Linked DNA regions of Homo sapiens: all the other regions are linked to region 7. Evidence: promoter capture Hi-C in 16 types of primary human blood cells and fetal thymus (Javierre and others, 2016). All regions are on one chromosome and are shown on one strand. The core of a region is centred on a gene start or on the middle of the fragment in contact, and the rest is flanking DNA. Distances in the headings are between cores, read along the strand shown. Region 1 holds the start of SMC1A (structural maintenance of chromosomes 1A). Region 2 overlaps KDM5C (lysine demethylase 5C). Region 3 holds the start of TSPYL2 (TSPY like 2). Region 4 overlaps HUWE1 (HECT, UBA and WWE domain containing E3 ubiquitin protein ligase 1). Region 5 overlaps IQSEC2 (IQ motif and Sec7 domain ArfGEF 2). Region 6 overlaps KANTR (KANTR integral membrane protein). Region 7 holds the start of APEX2 (apurinic/apyrimidinic endodeoxyribonuclease 2).

Region 1 (2,700 bases), core at 201-2,700, 1.6 Mb after region 7:
ATCTAGTTCCTGCACACCTCTCCAATTTGTCTCAAACCACTGTCTCCCTTGCTTACAGTGCTCCAGGCAAGCTGATCAAGTCCTCCAACACAGTAATTGTTCCCACCCCGGGGCCTTTGTATGTGCTGTTCCTTTGTTTGGAGCGTGATTCTTTAATTCCTCCTATAGCTATTTGGATCTTTTTGGTGTTTTGTTTTGTTTTCCATTTTGTAACTGTGAAGTAGTTGAACATATATGCCCGGCTGATTTTTGTATTTTTAGTAGAGATGGGGTTTCACAGTGTTAGCCAGGATAGTCTCAATCTCCTGACCTTATGATCCACCCTCCTTGGCCTCCCAAAGTGCTGGGATTACAGGCATGAGCCACCACACCTGGCCCCATTTAATTTTTTTTAATATAGATGGGGTCTCACTATATTGCCCAAGCTAGTCTTGAACTCAAGCAATTCTCCTGCCTCGGCCTCCCAAAGTGCTGGTATTACAGGCATGAGCCATTGTGCCCGGCGTCACTTAGGTTTTTAATCCACTTGGAGTTGCATTTTGTGTATGGTGTGAGATAAGGATCCAATTTAATTTTCCCCCCAAGTGCCATCTCATCTTTTTTAAATTTAAAATTTTATTTTATTTTTGGCCGGGCGCGGTGGCTCACGCCTGTAATCCCAGCACTTTGGGAGGCCGAGGCAGGTGGATCAGGAGGTCAGGAGTTCAAGACCAGCCTGGCCAACATAGTGAAACCCTGTCTTTACTAAAAATACAAAAAAATTAGCCAGGCGTGGCAGTGGGCACCTGTAATCCTAGCTACTTGGAAGGCTGAGGCAGAGAATAAAATTTATTTTATTTTTAATTTGTTTTAGATGGGGTCTCTCTCTGTTGCCCAGGATGGAGTGTAGTGGTGCAATCATGGCTCACTGCAGCCTCAAACTCCTGGGCTCAAAGGATCTTCCTGCCCCAGCCTCCTGAGTAGCTGGGACTACAGGTGTGTGCCACCATGCCTGCCTAATTTTTAAAATTTTTTTGTAGAGATTGGGTTTTGCTATGTTACCCAGGCTCACCATCTCATCTTTTAAAAGGGAACAGTATTTCCCCATGGATTACATGAGATTGCTGTCTTTTAGCCATTTTATCCCCTCAGCCTGATTGTTTCTCCCAGCTGAACTTCATTTATGGCTCCCCTACTAGATTCCATCTACCAAGCTTCCTCCCTTTATTTATTTTTGAGACAGGGTATTGCTCTGTCACCTAGGCTGGAGTGAAGTGGTGCGGACACCACTCACTACAGCCTCAACCTCCCAGGCTCAAGTGATCCTCCTGCTTCGGCATCCTGGGTAGACCAGAGGTGAGAGCTGCCACACCCAGCTAATTTTTTAATTTTTAGTAGAGATAGGGTCTCACTATGTTGCCCAGGCTGGTCTTGAACTGCTGGTCTCAAGTGATCCTCCTGCCTTGGCCTGCCTCCCTCACGATGGGATTACAGTTGTCAGCCACCATGCCCAGCCACTTCCTCACTTTCCTGGACTTGTCCTAAGTCTTTAGGACTCTTTCTAGCCTTCGGACATAATTTAATAAATAGTTAAAGGAATAATTATGGCAACCACCAGATCCTTTCCATGTTTAAGTCTGAGAATGGCACCAACTTACCTACTGGTTTCACCTGCCATTACAGTATAAGGTCACTGAAGGGGAAGATTCAGCTGACATTTTAAGCTTCTTGGATTGCTAAGGCCCCTGCCTTATTAATGATAGAGAGCAGAGAGGGAAGAGAGGTAAGGTGGCATTGTGGTATAGAGCTGTGGGAATGGGATGGGGGAGAGGCATGGAGGCAGAGGTAGGTGGAGGTGGAGAGCGCTGGCTTAGGGACCCTGACTCCTGGGGGTTCACACAAAATACCTTTCTCAGTAAGGAATCCCGATTTTGAAGCTCTTAGGTTGGCTCTGCATGCAACTTTGTTCTTGGGTTACGGCGGCAGTTTCTGAACTCTGCTTGGTACAACAGGAGGGAGGCAGGGGATAGGGGTAGTATCTCAGGCCGTAGCCTTCCCCAGCCTGTATCCCTGTTGCCTGGGAGTAGCCCCAGTCCCATTCACAACCCGTCCGCCTTCGCAACCCGTCCCGCCACCAATCCCACCCCACCATTAGCAAAGTCTGAGCTCACCTAACACTGAATCCTCCCGTTGGCCCCTCCTTCCCGTCCAGCTCTCCGCTCCCCCCGGGTCCTTCCAATTCCCGACCCTGTCCTTGTCCTAGCCTTGAAAGCTGGCCAGGCTAAAGCCACAGCCGAGCTCCCACCTTCCTCTTGCCCTGAGGGGCATAATCCTGCTGTGACTTCTGTCTCAGCAAGCGTGAGCTCAGGTCTCCCCCGCCTCCTTGAACCTCAAGAACTGCTCTGACTCCGCCCAGCAACAACTCCTCCGGGGATCTGGTCCGCAGGAGCAAGTGTTTGTTGTTGCCATGCAACAAGAAAGGGGGGCGGAGGCACCACGCCAGTCGTCAGCTCGCTCCTCGTATACGCAACATCAGTCCCCGCCCCTGGTCCCACTCCTGCCGGAAGGCGAAAATCCCGTTAGGCCTGGACGTATTCTCGCGACATTTGCCGGTCGCCCGGCTTGCACTGCGGCGTTTCCCGCGCGGGCTACCTCAGTTCTCGGGCGTACGGCGCGGCCTGTCCTACTGCCGCCGGCGCCGCGGCCGTCATGGGGTTCCTG
Region 2 (2,700 bases), core at 201-2,700, 1.8 Mb after region 7:
GTCTCCTGGCTGAAATGGAATAGGAAGCTTCATTCCCACCTGAGGAGGGCACCACAGGCCTCCTTATCCAACTTGGTGCTTTCTGGTGCTCAGCCACAGATCTAGGATGGTTTCAGATAGATCCTCTAGGAGGTGTTGGGTAAGCGAATTTCTTCCTTCTTGGAGTCTGGCCACAGATTTCTGAGGTATCCTTGTCCATGGTGAGGGAGTGGCAGTGGGTAGAGGGTCAGGAAGGCTAGTGGAAGGGAGAGGCAGGAGTCCTGGGCAGCCTCAAGGAGGCACTCCCTGAAGTGGTTGGGCAAGCCTGTGGGAAAAAGAGGCATAGCTGACGTAGGGGGTAGTTGAGGCCTGAATTCCTTTTTTCTATCTTGGACTGACTTAGGCAGGCTGGCCTTGTGTAGGTGTTGTTACCCTGCTTTGGGGCATCAGGAAGGGGAAGAGTGACATGTCCCAGGTGTGCATGGCCAGCAGGAGGCCGTCCTTTTCACTGCTCAACAGTGTGCTTCTCTCTAATCCAGGATACCTGGCTCTCTGGTTTGGTTTTGTTTTTTCCTTCTCTATGGCAGCTCCTAGGCCACCTTTAGGCAGCTGGCCTTCTTCTGGTTGAAGTTTGAAGTACTCGCTCAAGTGATGCTTGGGCCCAGGGTGGGAACCTGTATATGGGTGGGTACCTGGGAATTGGAGGTTTGCTGGAGGAAGGATGGTTTGGGGCCTGAATTGCTGGGCAGGTGACTGCTACGCTTGGGAAAGATGGGTGGGAGGAGAGTGTGGGTACCCTGAGTAGACCCAGTGGAGTTTGGAAGGATCTTGCTTTCTTCATCAGGTAGCCAGCCTTTTTTTTATCACCACATCCCAGTAATACCAACATACATTTGGCATACAGTAGTCTGGAGATGAAGGCAGGCGGTTTGCAGGGCCTTCCCAGGTATCTGTTGCATCCATGGCTCCTGCCGTAGCATTCCAGGGCTGCCATTTCCTGTCAGGTGCTTGATGTTGCACTGATTGTCTAGAACTTGATTCAGCAGGAAAGAAGGGTGCCCGGAGTTTTGGGTTTGAGCACCTTTTTAGCTGGGTTACCTGTGCTGAGGGGAGTGCCCTATCCTGATGAGAGGCAAGAGGGCATGGGGAGCTTGTCTGGATTTGAGCCATACCATTTTGGCCTGCCTGTTTTTTTTTTTTTTTGTCCCTGCTTACTGAGCCCCAGATGTTTGCCACCTGCTTTGGCTGGTAGGGGCAGGGGAGTGTGGTCTGTGTATGCATGCAAAATATGAGTCCTCTAGCCCATTTTCTAAAAGTGTGTGTGCAGAAGAGGTCAACAGTTTTTCTTCTCTTTCACTGTCTCTCCCCCCCGCCCACGTGTATGCATGTATGTATGAACATTGATGTCTGGTGTAGTGCAAAGGCCTTGGATCAGAGGTCAGAAGACGTGGGTTCTTGGCCCCACCACTAACTCAGCATGTAATTTTGGAAATTTCACTTTTTTTCTCTGAGCCTCACTTTCCCCATTTATAAAATGAGAACATTGGTTTAGGTTACTTTAGGTTGATTTCACCACCCCAGCAGGAGCCAGGGCTCTGGGAAGGAGAGGTCTGCATAGGAGGTTGGAAAGGGGTGTTGGAGAGGGGGTTCTTCACAGCTGACCTTTGGGCAGGACACAGCAAGCTCCAACTTGGCAGAGCAGAGTGTCTCCCACTTTCATGATCTTTCCCTGACTTCCCTCCCCAAATCCTCCCATTCTTTGCCACCACAGTCAGGCATCCCAGCACTTACCCCCACCCCCTGGGGCTTCCTCCCCTGCCTCTTCCTGTACCAGGCAGGTGTATGAGAGAGGATCTACAGGAAGCCTTCCAGACTGGGTGAGTGATACACATACTTGCTCCCTGTTCCTTGCTCTTCCCTGCAGTGTCTATCTCAGGCCCTTTAAACTGAGAGAACAAACATTAAAGGCCCAAACCTTTACGTCCTGCCACAATCGGACCTGAGCTACCCTGCATGTGTATTGTGAGGTGTGGTCAGCCTTAGATGTCAGGTCATAACGGTGACTCCTTTGAATAACATTTTCATTTGAAAACTAGTTTTAATTTTCCATATTGGTCTGGCAAGGAAGCCAGGGCTAGAGTTCATATTCCCACCTCACAGATGAGAAAACAGGTTCAGAAAGCTAAAATCTCATAGCTAGTAAGTAGCGGATCTAGAACATGAACCCATATCTTCTGACTCTAGATCCTGTGTGCTTTCCAGTACTCCCAGGCCTGTGTGTCCTACAGCACGTGCCTAGGGGATAAGGAATTAATGTGGGTGTGGAGAAGGTTTAGGGTCAACAAAACAGAGGCTCCATCTCTTAATTTCTTGAAATCCTGGCACTGTACTGTTGGGTGGGACTCAGGAGAAGTTTCCTAGGGCATGTGCATGGGGCCTTGGGTGCAGACTTGAGGGGCTGCTAGACTCTTGTGAGTTCTGGGGGGAGGTGGGGGTGGGTGGTTGGGTAGGATGTTTGCAGGTTAAAGGGTCTGGAGTGGCTAGAGGTTTGGGAAGGTGCCAGTGGGATTCCGAGCTGCTTTTGGTGACTTCCGGTCTTACACTATGCTGAGATAACTCAAGTCCCTTTCCCCTCTCTACCCTCTCAGGACTGGCAGCCACCCTTTGCTGTGGAAGTGGACAACTTCAGGTTTACCCCCCGAATCCAGAGGCTGAATGAGC
Region 3 (2,700 bases), core at 24-2,523, 1.9 Mb after region 7:
TTTTTTGCTGTGTGCCCCTTTACTACCCTCCCCCTTTTTATCATCTGTGATCCTTTTTTTAATGCTATGTTCCTCCTCTTCCCCCTTTCCCATCTGTGGTCCAGTTTTTATGTCCGCCCCCCCTCCACCACCCTTCATCATCTCCAGTCCAGCTTCTCTGCTGTTTTGCCCTCCTCCTTCCATCCCTCTTCCACCCAGTCTAGTCCGTCTTCCGATAGGGGGATCATGCCCACCTCTGGCTCTCCTCCACCCGCTTTACCTTTTCTGTCCCTCCCCCACCTTCCCCTTTCCTGTCACGGGCTTCTGACCTACGGAGTATCGATTAGAAGGATACTGCTTTGACCCAGAAGCCTGGGATATGCTGGATGATGAGGTCTCTGCGCTCCAGGAAGGGTCTTCGCATCTGGATGAACTTGCGCTTGAGACGCAGGAAGGCTTTGCCTGCCTTGATGTTCACTGCCTCCAGATCCAGCTGAATATCCTCCAGTGCCTGCAGGATGCTCTCCATCCTCTCGGCATTTCTCTCTCTGCTTTCCCTCTTCACCTTCCTCTGCTTCCTCCTCCGCCGCCGCCGCCGCCTCCTGCTGCTCCTCATACTCTCCCGCTCATCCTCATCCTCATCCTCCACTATGATGATCGCCTCTTCCTTGCTCTTCGGGTCAACTAACCTCTGGGGCGCCCACCCCACTGCGCTACAGGTTTCTAGGGCCCCCTCTCCACCAAAACTGCTCGACTGTACAACCTGAAAATCGATTTCCAGGCTCCCCCCCGAGGCCTCAGGAGTGGGGAGTGCTTCCAGGCTCTCCGTGGGCGGGGGCGCCTCCCCATACCCCGACTCGATGGTAGAATCCCAGCCGGGACACTCAGCACCGAGCGTGAAGTATGCGCGGATCCCCCCCTCCTCGAGAATGACATAGGGAGGCGGCGGGGGCAGCGCGGGGCCCAGTCCCACCCCCCTCATATCGGCCAGCACCTGTGCCGCCTCCGTTTCCTCCTGGAGCCTCGGGCGCTGCTGGGGTGGAGGCAGCGGCAGTCGGAGGAGCGGCGGCGGCGGCGGCGGCGGGGGCGGGTCGCGCTGTGGAGACTCGGAGCTGCTCAGGCGGCGGGTCTTGGCCGGAGGCCCCTCATCTGGGCGGTCCATGGCGACCGCGTTCGTACAGCTCAGGGGACTCGCACTCGCCCCTTCGCTTTTAGCCGCGTCGCTGCCGCTAGTCGCACCGGTAAGCAGAGCTGAGGAGACTCACGCAACCAGCTCTCCTCACCACCTCGCTCTGGCGTTCCCTCCCACAGCGCCCGCTCTACTCCCTCCGCGCCAATCGCCGAAGCCCCGCCCACTCCTGACGCAGGGGTCCGCTCGGCCTGGCCATTGGCTGCCGGCCGCCGCGGCGGCGATCGCGCTCCCGCGACCCCTGCCCGCTCTCACGCAATCCGCTTGCCAACACCACACATCATCAGTTTCCGATTGGCTCCCCTCGGGCCCGCCAATCAACGGGCTGACTCCCTCAGCGACGGGAGGGAAACTGCAGGGCGATTGGCTGCGAGGAAAGCTGGGGAAGAAGCCCCTCTCCCTCACCCTCTCAGCGTTTTATCCAATGGGAAAAGTACCAGTGGTTCTGAAGACCAAAAAACGAGACGAAAAACAAACGCAGGCGCTGAGCAGGATGTGCTCACATGAAATTGGAAGAGCCTCGTTATCGTTCCCCCCGCCCCCCTCCCCTCAGCAACTACGCACTTTTAAAATCTGCCCCTTCCCCCATTTCCTTCAGCTCCTTCCCCCACCCCCGCTTCTGCCCCTTCCCCCATCCCGGGTCCTGCCCCTTCCCCCATCCCAGCTCCTGCCCCTTCTCCCACCCCCGCTTCTGCCCCTTCTCCCATCCCCCACTGCTGCCCCTTTTTCCATCCCCGCTTCTGCCCCTTCCTCCACTCCCCGTTTCTGTCCCTTCCCCCACCCCCCGTTTCTGCCCCTTCCCCCATCCCCCGCTTCGGCCCCTTCCCCCACCCCACCCCCGCTTCTGCCCCTTCACCCCCCGCTTCTGCCCCTTCCTCCCCCGCTTCTGCCCCTTCCCTCACCCCCCCTTCTGCCCCTTCCCGCATTCCCTGCTTCTGACCCCCATCCCCCAACTGTCTCTTCCCTCACCCCCACTTCTGCCCCTTCCCCTATCCCCCAACTTCTGCCCCTTCCTTCACCCCCCAACCCCACTTCTGCCCCTTCCCTCACCCTCCCGCCCTCCGCTTCTGCCCTTCCCCTATCCCCCAACTTCTGCCCCTTCCCTCACACAACCCCTGCCCCCCGCCCCCCCGCTTCTGCCTCTTTTCCTACCTTCCACTTCTGCCCCTTCCCCCACCCCCCACGTTTGCCCCCTGGGTGAACTCTGCTGTAGCTCCTCGGGGGCTCGGGCTGCCCTACCGCCTGCGCCTGCAATTTAGGCACCCAGGGTGTTTGGTTTGGGGGCCAGGTTTTGACGTGGCGTTTTCCATCTCCGCAAAATGGCTCTACAAATAATAATCACACACACAAAAAAGTAACTTCCTCTGCGTCATAAAAATGATTGTGATTCAGCTCATCTGCTAGAATTTTCTAGCACTTTCTGTCTCTTCATTTCTCCCCCTTTCCATCCTTTCCTCTCCCTTTCCCCAGTGTATGCTGTATTTTAAGATTTTTCTTTTTAAACCAGAGATGGATGGTCTTTTGTGAGGCAT
Region 4 (2,700 bases), core at 146-2,645, 1.3 Mb after region 7:
TGAAGGGTCTTAGCTAGTTCTGTAATGTGTATTACATTGGTTACCTTGATCTCTCTCCGTCTATACTGGCCCCTCCTATTCAAGGTGTTCAAGGTTCTGTTGTAACCTTAGTAACCTATAATAAGTATTCCTAATAGTCATCAGTATCACCACTGTTAACACATTTGGGCAGCACCATGCATGGCAGGTCAGCAAACAGGTAAATCTTATTTTTTTAAACATTACACATAATATCTAAAGTATAGTTTGTGGCATGTAATAAGTGCTGCTGAATAAATGGAAGTCATTGTTCAGTTTTTAGCTTAATATATCTTTTTTTTTCTTTTAACATAACATTTACTGAATGTTGCTAAGTATAAGGAGTAAGGGACATAAAATGAATGAGACTTGGTCTCTGCCCTTGAGAAACTCACAGTCGAGTTAAGGACTGTGAAATCATGTTTAAAGTTCCTTAGCCTTTTCCTTTGTGTCATCATTTCTTCCCCTGCACTGTCTATGCATGATATAGCCTGTCCATTGTTTCTCACAGCTTTCCTAATTCTGTGTGCCTCCCCAGCCTTTGAGACTGCTGATATGTGAGAAAGCCAACAATTGTCTTCTATTAATACAGGGTAATATCAAGAAAAACCTTTGGGCCAATATTGGATTTCAGAGTGGCATGTGCAGTTGACATTACAATACCAGTTTATGGTCTTTAGATGGGCCTGTACACCTGGGCTCCAGCCTCTTTCCTGTGCCTTTAAACTGCCTTACTTCCATCTTTCCTCCCCTATACCCTACCCTTAATGTACTTGGTACATAAAAATAGAGGCTCCCATACCCAGGTAGTGATCAAGTACAATGTAAAGAAACAGCTGTACTTCATATAAACTAGGATTCGAGTGGGCCTAGGGTATATCACTAAATTTCCATTCTTATCTATAAAACAGTAATCGGAAAGCCTATTTCATAGGTTGCTGTGAGCATTAAAGCGAGATGATGTATTTTTAAATGCTTGTAAAGTACGAAGATAAGGTCATTATAATTTATATAAAATACTTAGTAGCTATGTTACTTGGGGCAAATTACCTCATCACTGAGCCAGTTTCCTCATCCTTTAAATGAAGATGGTGATATTCATTTAACAAATATTTATTGAGGACGTAGTCATTGCAGCTACATCCTGGGAATACAAAGATAAGTGACTGGAGAATGTAGGACAGTGTGGTCTAGGGGAAGGAGACTTGCAAATCACACAAAAGGGTCAGTATGGTAATATGAGGAATGAACAAAATGTGCTATAGCAGTTTACAAGAAGGCATCAGAGAATGTCACAGAGTTTTGTTAGGGTTAAGCAAGATAAATGAAAAGTACTTCATGAATTCAAAAATGCTATACAAATAAGTTAGTTAAACGTACCCCAAATGAATCAATAGTCTCAAACCATTATTGTTTCATTTCTTCACAAGACTTACTCTTTAGATGCATTTATTTCTTTGAGCTAGATTTTATGACCTCCTTAAGGGTAACCTGTAGTAGAGTATCCTGAAAGTTAATGCTTTTGTCTAAAAGGATTTTTTTCATCCATTTTATCATTTTCTAGTTTTTAATCACTGAATTCAGGAAAAACTAGAAAATGTGTGCATATTTGGGGAGAGGATATACATAATTCCACCACAATGTTTAGTCACTGTTAACATTTTGGTGTATTCACATCTTAATGATAAGGGTAGTGTTTAAGGAATAAGAAAAGAAATCTAGTAGGAAATTTTAAGGATAGGCATTTCCCAGAATAGGAAACTAAAAACGTCCACTAACAAGAAATGGTACTCAAACTAATAATCAGAAATGCAAATTTAAATAAGGTCATTTTTAGTCATTAGATTGATAAAAAATAATTTGATAATATCAAGTCATCGTAAAAGGTATAAGGAAGAGTCTGGCCTTATAATACTGCCTACAAGTGGCGTAAATTGATACAGCTATTTTGGAGGCAATTTTGGCAAGTTGCAAGAGAGTACATACTATGTGATGCTATTTATGTTTTAAAAAAAACCATGGCAAACTGACAACTTTATTTGGGAGGAGGGATCGTGGGGAACTTTACCTTTTTCTGTAATATGTGCATTTCTACTTCTGAAAAATATACTGAGAAGTACAGAGAATAATACAACAATCCCTGTCCCTACCCCCACTCCAGAATTGATCATTTTTAACATTTATTTTTGCCTTACATTTTTTTGTGGAGTTGGAAGTAACACAAGTTGAGTGTCCCTAATCCAAAATTCAAAATGCCCCAAAATGAGTTTCAACACGATGCCACAAGTGGAAAATTCTACGCCTAAGTACTTAACACTTTGTTTCATGAGCAGAATTATTAAAAATATTGTATAGGGTACAACGAACATTATTTGGGTGATGGTTACACTAAATGTCTAGACTTCACTACTGCACAATATACCCATGTAACAGAACTGTACTTGTGCCACCTAAATTTATACGAGAAATTGTGTAAAATTACCTTCAGGCTGTATGTATAAGGTGTGTATGGAACATGAATGGATTTCATGTTTAAACTTGAGCCGCATCCTCAAGATGTCTCATGATGTATAGGCAGATATTCAAGAATCTGAAATCTGAAATCCTGCTGGTCCCAAGCACTGGATAGGAGATACTTAACCTGTATAGGTAAACAGGAGATACTTTTTTAATACCCAGCAT
Region 5 (2,700 bases), core at 90-2,589, 1.7 Mb after region 7:
TCCATCTCTCATGGCTTGCCTGGTCCCTGTCATCTCTTTTTCTTTCTTTCTTTCTTTTTCTTTTTCTTTTTTTTTTTTTTTTTTGAGCCGGATACTTGCTCTGTCGCCCAGGCTGGAGTGCAATGCCATGATCTTGGCTCACTGCAACCTCCACCTCCTGGGTTCAAGCGATTCTCCTGCCTCAGCCTCCCAAGTAGCTGGGACTACAGGCGTGTGCCACCACACCCAGCTAATTTTTGTATTTTTAGTAGAGATGGGGTTTCACCATTTTGGCCAGGATGGTCTCGATCTCTTGACCTCGTGATCCCCCCTCCTCGGCCTCCCAAAGTGCTGGGATTATAGGTGTGAGCCACCGCGCCCAGCCTATCATCTCTTTTTCATGGACTTCTCTCTCTGGACCAGCTTCCTCTGCTTGCCCATGGCCTGACATGGCCACCAACCTGGAAGCTATGTGACCTTTTCCAGCTTCAGGATCTGCCCCTCCTGCCATTGGACTGCAGTGATCCTCCAGCCTGTGGTAACACAAGGCAGCAAGGGGCCGTGTGAGATAATTGATTCCCTCAGAATTGGATGAGAGGAGAGAGAGAAAACACTTGGTACTTCTTGTTTCTTCTGCAGTAAGCACAGTTTTTATGTGTACCCAAGTGAGGTCAGAGCTGGTCGGCTCAGAGGCAAACACTTGTAAGATTGTTTTTGGTTCCTATTTTATAGCAAGATGACCTTTGCTCACTGTGCTTTCAAGTTCCATATCCTTGCATCAAAACATGCTGTTTTGTCTAAAAGTGCCCTCTTATTTTATGCCGAAAAAGCTTTTAAATGTACAGTGAATATTACCATTGCTACCAGCTTGTGGTAATTTTTCATAACCTCAGAACAACTGGTATAAAGCTACTGATGGTACAGCTGCTACCCAGCTCTTGGTGGCCTCAGGAATTTTGATATTTTATGAGTTCAGTGACTGAATTTATAGTTACCTCCAGTATATAATTACAAGTACACATTATCAATGTTATCAGCTTGATGCTGGAGCTTACTTTTCCACTAATACAAACCCTGCAGGTTTTACATTAATTACAGAGGGAACTAATGACCCCTTAGACAAGTTTTCACCTATGAATAAAGAGTTAGGAATCAGCTGTGCCAGTAATGACTGTTCTCCAGACACAGGAGCGATGTCCACAGCTCTGGCCTTGGCCCTGACCTCGCATCCTCTGGCCGAGACTAGGGGCTTCCCATCACCTCCTCAGAGGCCTCCTGACTCTGGCCTGGCACACAGCAGGTGCTGTTATTTTTAATAAAATTGATAGTTTTATGATTGCTATTAAAGCCATCTTCCATATCTAAATGGTAAACCTAAGTGAGAGAGATTATCCCAGGTTCTGGGCAGTCTCCTTCAACTCCTCCCCCTGCCCTTTTCTCACTGTTCCAAATAGTAATAATTGCTTTGAGTCAGAAAATGTCTGCTAAATATCAGGTACTATTACAGAGCACTGGAGACACATTATCTTTAATCTTTGTGGCCACCCTGCCAAGTAGGGGTGACTTACAGGTGGGGAAACTGAAACCTAGAGAGGTAAAATGACTTGCCCCAAATTGTCCATCCACACATCCATTCATTTATTCCTTCATTCAAGGATTTATTGAGTGCCTACAATGTGCCAGATGCTGCTAAATGTGGCTGATAGGGTGGTGAGTAACAGCCCTGCTGTGATGAAGCCCACTGTCTGGTCAGGAAATAGACAAGGAGACAGACAATTACAGACAATTATAGGGGAAGTGCAGGGTGCTGTGGGAGCACCACGGAAATATACCCAACCCAGCCTGAGGGCCAGGGAGGCTTCTCCAAGCTGACATCTAAGTGGAAGCTTGGAGCATGAGTAGAAGTTAGCCAGGGGAGGGGTTGGGTGGGGCAAAGTGAAGTGAAGAGTGTTGCAGGCCAGAACTGCGAGAAGAGTGTTTGGCACCCACGTTTGTGAAGAACTAAAGGAGTATCTGCAGTGAGATGGCACTGTCATGAGAAACGGTCTCATCTGGAAAGGGAGCAGAAGGTTTATCGGGAGGCTGGAACTGTGGCCCTGGTTGCTTAAGTCCAGAGCTGAGGAGCTGCAGGACCCAGTAACAGTTTCCATGTGACAATTGTGGGCCTGGGAGCCTCCTGGGTCGGCCTGGCCAACAGCAGGCTGGGATTCTAGTGGCCACAGTGCCCTCTAGTGTCCACTGGCCCACCTTGCAGCCTCCACCTCTGTCCATTGTCCCCCCACCATGTGTGACCAGGTGCCCGGTGCTGAGTGCTGGGGACACTGGGATGAACAAGACACAGCTCTCACAGAGCTCCCGACAGAGAAGGGGCAGCAGGCATCTGAACACAGTGTTGAGAGAAGCCGGCTGAGAAAAGAGCAGGGCGGAAGGACACAAGGGAGGTGACCCAACCTGCTTGGGTGGGGTCAAGGCAGGTTCCCAGAGGGCACAACATCTAGCTGACTTTTGAAGAACAAGGGGGAGCCAGCCAGGTGGGGAGATGACAGTGGGGGCACAGCGGGACAACAGAGGTACTATTACAGAGCATTTGACACACATTCTCTTTAATAAGGCTTGGAGCAGCAGAGTGTAGCTGAGAGAGTTGCAGGTGCTTCTGTCTGGGTGGGGTGCAGGTTGAAGGTGGGGGGAAGGCTGAGACTAGCTGGAGGTATGGGGTAGGGG
Region 6 (2,700 bases), core at 191-2,690, 1.9 Mb after region 7:
TATATAGAAAATACTAAAGACTCCACCAAAAAACTGTTAGAACAAGCCTGCGTGCAGTGGCTCATGCCTGTAATCCCAGCACTTTGGGAGGCCGGGGCTGGCAGATGGCTTGAGGCCAGGAGTTCGAGACCACCCTGGCCAACATGGTGAAACCCCATCTCTACTAAAAAATATAAAACTTAGCCAGGCATGGTGGCACATGCCTATAGTCCCAGCTACTCGGGAGGCTGAGGCATGAGAATTGCTTGAACCCAGGAGACGGGGGTGCAGTGAGCTGAGAACATGCCACTGCACTCCCGCTTGGGCAATACAGTGAGACTCTGTCTCCAAAAAAAAAAAAAGAAAGAAAAAAGAAAACCGTTAGAACAAATAAATTCAGTAAAGTTACAGGATACAAAATCAACATACAAAAATCAGTAGCACTTCTATACACTAACAACAAAGTATCTGAAAAAGAAATCAAGAAAGCAATCCCATTTACAATAGCTACAGAAAAAAAGTAAAATACTTAGGAATAACCGGGTGTAGTGGCTCACGCCTGTAATCCCAGCACTTTGGGAGGCCGAGGCGGGTGGATCACCTGAGGTCAGGGGTTTGAAGCCAGGCTGGCCAACATGGCGAAACCCCATCTCTACTAAAAATACAAAATTAGCAGGGTGTGGTGGCACACATCTGTAATCCCAGCTACTCGGGAGGCTGAGGCAGGAGAATCGTTTGAAACTGGGAGGCGGAGGTTGCAGTGAGATGAGATCGCGCCACTGCATACTCCAGCCTGGGCAACAAGAGCGAAACTCCATCTCAAAACAAAAACAAAAACAAAACAACAAAAAACAAACTTAGGAATAAATTTAACCAAGGAGGTAAAAGACGTGTACCCTGAAAACAGTAAGACATTGATGAATGAAACTGAAGATGATACAAATACATGGAAAGATACCCTGTGGTCATGAATTGGAAAAATTAGTATTGTTTAAATGTCCACACTACTCAAAGTGATCTACAAATTTAATGCAATCTCTATAAAAGTTCCATGTCATTTTTTACAGAAAAATACTAAAATTTGTATAAACCACAAAAGACACCAAATAGCCAAAGTAATCTGGAGCAAAAAGAACAAAGCTGGTAATCCCAGCACTTTGGGAGGCTGAAGTGAAAGGACTGCTCGAATCTAGGAGTTTGAGACCAGCCTGGACAACATAGTGAGACCCTTGTCTCCACAAAAAAATTAAAAATCAGCTGGGTGTGGTGGTGTGCACCTGTAGTCCTACATACTTTGGAGGCTGAGATGGGAGGACTGCTTGAGCCCGAGAGTTCGAGGTTGCAGTGAGCTATGATCACACCGCTGCGCTGCAGCCTGGGTTACAGAGCGAGACCCTGCCTCAAAAAAAAAAAGGCATTCAGACAGGAAAGAAAAAAGTGAAACTATCTCTATTTAGAGATAACATGATCTTGTATATTTAAAAATCCCAAGGAATCCACCAAAAAACTATTTGAACTAATAAACAAGTTCAGCAATGTCATATGATAGAGGATCAATAAACAAAAATCTATTGTATTTCTATGCACTAGCAATGAACAATCAAAAAATGAAATTAAGGGCTGGGTGCAGTGGTTCATGCCTATAATCCCAGCACTTTGGGAGGCTGAGGTCGGGTGGATTACTTGAGGCCAGGAGTTCGAGACCAGCCTGGCCAACATGGCAAAACCCCATGGCTACTAAAAATACAAAAATTAGCTGGGTGTGGTAGTATGCACCTGTAGTCCCAGCTGCTTGGGAGGCTGAGGCACAAGAATTGCTTGAACCCGGGAGGTGGAGGTTGCAGTGAGCTGAGATCACGCCACTGCACTCCAGCCTGGGTGACAGAGTGGGACTCTGTCTCAAAAAAAAAAAAAATTAAGAAAAAATTTGAAGGCCAGGCACGGTGGCTCACGCCTGTAATCCTAGCACTTTGGGAGGCCGAGGCGGGCAGATCATGAGGTCAGGAGTTTGAGACCAGCCTGGCCAACATGGTGCAACCCCGTCTCTACTAAAAATACAAAAAATTAGCTGGGTGTAGTGGCTGGTGCCTATAATCCCAGCTACTCTGGAGGCTGAGGCAGGAGAATCGCTTGAACCCAGGAGGCGGAGGTTGCAATGAGCCAAGAGCGCCCCACTGCACTCCAGCCTGGGTGACAGAGTGAGACTCCGTCTCAGAAAAAAGAAAAAAAGAAAAAGTCCAGCTAGGTGCAGTGGTTCACACCTGTAATCCCATGAGTTCAAGGCTGCTGTGGGCTATGATGGAGCCATTGCACTCTAGTTTGAGCAACAGAGCAAGACCTTGTCTCTAGAAAACAAACCCCTGACTCTGAGATAAAAGCATGAGGAAATTAAAAATTATTTTAATTTAAAAATTTTTAAAAATTAAAAAACATCCCATTTTAAAGTAGTATCAAAAAGAATAAAATGCCTAGGAATAAATTTAACAAAGGAACTGCAAGACTTGTATACTGAAAACTATAAAACACTCCTGAAAGAAATTAAACATCTAAATAAATCCCAAGTTCACAGACTAGAAGACAATATTGTTAAATGGCAATACTCCCCAAGTTGATATATAGATTCAACATAATCTCTATGAGAATTTCAGCTGTTTTTTTTTTTAAAGAAATTGATAAACTGCTGAGTTTGGTAGATCATGCCTGTAATCCCAGCACTTTGGG
Region 7 (2,700 bases), core at 24-2,523:
ATTTACCAGAATAGCCGCTACGGTTGCGGCTGAAGCTGAAATAGGAGTTATAACCCTCAACGATAGCCAGGGGCTCTGTCAGTGCATCCCCTGGAAAAAAAAAATGTAAGATTAAGTCAGAGGTAAAACTAGCATCCGAGAAACACAAAGGCCTGGAATTACAGTTGTAGGCTAATTCCTTGCACACATCAGAGCCAGAGTTGGGGGTGACGGGAATGAAATATCCATGATTAGAGGAGGACCTAGAAAGATGGGAAATGTCAGAGAGGAAATTGATATCAGAATTAGAAGGCTTGGTGGGGGGCGGTTAGAGACTATGAAGTGGAGGTGGAGAATTAGGTGGGAAGGGGAAAGAATCAGAGCTAAGCCTGGGGGTCTGAACGATAGGAGGAAGCTGGGGATGGGGATGGACATACGAGAGGATGGTGGGAATCTGAGCTAAGGGTGAGAGGTAAGAGAGAGGGAATTAGGGGATCTGAACTGGGGGTGGAGGGAAAAGGAATTAGGGGATTCTGAGGGGAGATAAGAGGGTGAAGAAATAAGAGGACATCTAAGCTTGGGGTGGGAAATGAGGTGGGAATTAGGGACTTTCCGCTGGGAGGAGAGATGGGAATAGATAAGGGGTACTGGGGTTCTGAGGTGGAAATGTGAAAAAGAGGAAATTAGACTGAGCTGGGGTCAAAGATGGGGTGGGAATTAGAGGATCTGAGCTTGGGGCAGGGATGAAGAATTCGGGGGTTTGACTTGGCGGCGGGGAGATGGACAGCGTATGGAAGGAGGAAATTCAGGGGACTGAGTTTGGGGCCGGAGAATGAGTGGGAATCTGACTAGATATGGGGTTTCGAGAAGGAGCTAAAGTTTGCTGAAGACAGGAGATGGAGTGCAATTAGGGGATCTAGCTAGGGTGGGAAATGGAAGTTTAAGAGGGAAGGGACCTGGGTCTAAGGACAGGACTCTAAGAATAGGAAACTGGGAAAGTAAAATTACATGGGACAGGGGACAAAAGTTAGCGGGAAAGAAAAAGTATGTAGGGATCCTGGAATCCAGAGCGCTCACTGGTCACTTTGGTTTCCTGGAGACAGACGATATCCGCATCCAGCTCGTCCAAAATGCGCCCCACGGCCACGGCGGCACAGTTGCTGGGTTCCTGATTTGCCACCCCTTGCAGGGGTCTCCGAATCCCATTGATGTTCCAGCTCACCACGCGCAACATCTTAAAGGGCTGGAACACCTCCCAGCCCGCGCCAACCTAGGCGCGAGCGAACTGCTTCCTGTTCAGAAGTTGGCCAGGCCCGCCTCCCGCGCGCGTTTGCGCAGGCGTTCTCGTGCGTACCACTAAAGCGCCTGACGCACGTCGGGCGGGGGCTTCAACTTCCTCAGCTCTCATTGGCGGGAGGAGGAACTGGGTGGACGCTGAAGGAAGCAAAGCGGAAGCCTAGGGGCAATGAATGGCGAGAGGAGTTTCCAGTTGGGCTCCCGCTCCTTCCGCTCGGACAGCTGAGTCTCAATGCGTTTTTCCTCTACTCAGAAGTCCAAGTGGTGCGTCCGGTTACTTACAAACGGCATTTTGCCACTTTTTAAGCGACGGAACCCTGAGCGGAACTGCTCAGCTGCCAAAGCCCCGCCCTCAGTGCGGCGGACCGCCCACCTAAGTTCACAGATGGCTGCAGCGCTTGCGCCCCAGGAATAGCTGGCGCTAAGTGCTCGCGTTGGACTGGGCAAAGGGAAGTTCATGGTTGGAGGAGGGAGCAGTAAGAGTCGCTCCACTGAGATAAGACTTAGGAGGAGGGCCTTTGGCTTTATTGGGGCAGAGGGGAGGAGGAGGAGGCTGTCTCAAGCCTGCCCTGTAGCTTTTGTCTTGGCTCTTAACATTCTGAAGGATGTAGCCGGACACATCCTTACTCTTGGTTCTGTTTCTCAGATAAGTGAAATCGAAGCCCAGGAAATGTAAGCTCGTGAGCAGCATTGTCTCCGGATGCATCCATGGCTCTTCTGTATATGTTATCTCATTTCATTCTCAAGACAACCCAGTTCGGGACATGGAGGCTAAGTTAGAGACGTCGAATGAATTCATTTCATTCTCACAGTTCACTCTCTCTTACACTGAAGTAGTAGAGCCAGGATTCACACCCTGTCTTAATTAGCTCAATAATTACTTTTCTGAGTGTTTTTACTGACCACACACCTCCCCAGTTAAGTCTTTTCCTCTGGGGCCCCACGGCACCCTATGGTCCATTCTGTCACAGTACTTATAATACACAGCTATCATTGACTTCTATTTCTGCTGCCATTAGAATGCCAGCAACTTGAGAGCAATGACCATGTCTGGTTCATCTTGTTAGCCCCATCCCCTAATACTGGACACAGCATATGTTGGGAAGCAATAGATATTTGTCAGGTGAATGAATGAACAAAGGATAATAGCAAGAGCATCGACAGGTTCATGGCTTGTTTTTGAGAGCACAAAAATTAGAAGTAATGGATATGCCCAATGTCCAGGGAAAAGCATAACGATGCATCTTTAGGTTCCTCACCCAGAATTGCAGCATAATTATTTGTTCCCCAGAATTTAAGTCTTAGAGCCATCATCCTCAATGGTTACAGCAAAGACGCAGTAAACTGCTTTTCCTCCTGGAGGACTTAAAAGGTTACCAGTTGTTGCTATCAGAAAATAGCTCTGTGATTAAAATAAAAATTTGC

Evidence for each region. The method cuts DNA at HindIII sites, captures the fragments that hold promoters and counts their contacts. A CHiCAGO score of 5 or more calls a contact.
Region 1: a contact is called between a fragment that was not itself captured here and the fragment with the promoter of APEX2 in region 7, in 1 of 17 cell types (naive B cells). The highest score is 6.1, in naive B cells.
Region 2: a contact is called between a fragment that was not itself captured here and the fragment with the promoter of APEX2 in region 7, in 9 of 17 cell types (neutrophils, total B cells, total CD8 T cells and 6 more). The highest score is 9.6, in neutrophils.
Region 3: a contact is called between the fragment with the promoter of TSPYL2 here and the fragment with the promoter of APEX2 in region 7, in 1 of 17 cell types (monocytes). The highest score is 5.9, in monocytes.
Region 4: a fragment that was not itself captured here is called in contact with the fragment with the promoter of APEX2 in region 7 in 4 of 17 cell types (neutrophils, naive CD4 T cells, fetal thymus and 1 more); the score reaches 8.0 in neutrophils.
Region 5: a fragment that was not itself captured here is called in contact with the fragment with the promoter of APEX2 in region 7 in 1 of 17 cell types (fetal thymus); the score reaches 5.8 in fetal thymus.
Region 6: a fragment that was not itself captured here is called in contact with the fragment with the promoter of APEX2 in region 7 in 1 of 17 cell types (neutrophils); the score reaches 5.5 in neutrophils.

What each region holds. Positions count from the first base shown.
Region 1 is chrX:53,422,589-53,425,288 of GRCh38, reverse strand. SMC1A (structural maintenance of chromosomes 1A) reads left to right here and starts at 2,635. Exons shown (of 25, transcript NM_006306.4): 1 at 2,635-2,700. The coding sequence starts at 2,689. RIBC1 (RIB43A domain with coiled-coils 1) reads right to left here and starts at 2,416. Exons shown (of 8, transcript NM_001031745.5): 1 at 2,285-2,416; 2 at 1,887-1,975. RefSeq lists enhancers at 2,328-2,377, 1,532-2,503, 2,668-2,700, 2,504-2,700. The HindIII fragment of the contact is 510 bases long and covers 1,196-1,705 here.
Region 2 is chrX:53,220,844-53,223,543 of GRCh38, reverse strand. It overlaps KDM5C (lysine demethylase 5C), which reads left to right. Exons shown (of 26, transcript NM_004187.5): 2 at 2,628-2,700. Among named protein-coding and RNA genes, the nearest start is that of KDM5C, 3.0 kb to the left of the region's middle. The HindIII fragment of the contact is 2,841 bases long and covers 30-2,700 here.
Region 3 is chrX:53,080,940-53,083,639 of GRCh38, reverse strand. It overlaps TSPYL2 (TSPY like 2), which reads right to left and starts at 1,273. Exons shown (of 7, transcript NM_022117.4): 1 at 335-1,273. The coding sequence starts at 1,141. RefSeq lists silencers at 899-948, 979-1,028, 1,299-1,408. The HindIII fragment of the contact is 18,116 bases long and covers 1-2,700 here.
Region 4 is chrX:53,673,257-53,675,956 of GRCh38, reverse strand. The region is part of intron 3 of HUWE1 (HECT, UBA and WWE domain containing E3 ubiquitin protein ligase 1); the gene reads left to right. Among named protein-coding and RNA genes, the nearest start is that of HUWE1, 12 kb to the left of the region's middle. The HindIII fragment of the contact is 9,468 bases long and covers 1-2,700 here.
Region 5 is chrX:53,284,324-53,287,023 of GRCh38, reverse strand. All of the region lies in intron 2 of IQSEC2 (IQ motif and Sec7 domain ArfGEF 2), which reads left to right. Among named protein-coding and RNA genes, the nearest start is that of IQSEC2, 36 kb to the left of the region's middle. The HindIII fragment of the contact is 1,056 bases long and covers 812-1,867 here.
Region 6 is chrX:53,107,400-53,110,099 of GRCh38, reverse strand. All of the region lies in intron 2 of KANTR (KANTR integral membrane protein), which reads right to left. Among named protein-coding and RNA genes, the nearest start is that of KANTR, 15 kb to the right of the region's middle. The HindIII fragment of the contact is 8,249 bases long and covers 1-2,700 here.
Region 7 is chrX:54,998,936-55,001,635 of GRCh38, reverse strand. It overlaps APEX2 (apurinic/apyrimidinic endodeoxyribonuclease 2), which reads right to left and starts at 1,273. Exons shown (of 6, transcript NM_014481.4): 1 at 1,057-1,273; 2 at 7-90. The coding sequence starts at 1,213. RefSeq lists a silencer at 1,253-1,392. The HindIII fragment of the contact is 4,396 bases long and covers 558-2,700 here.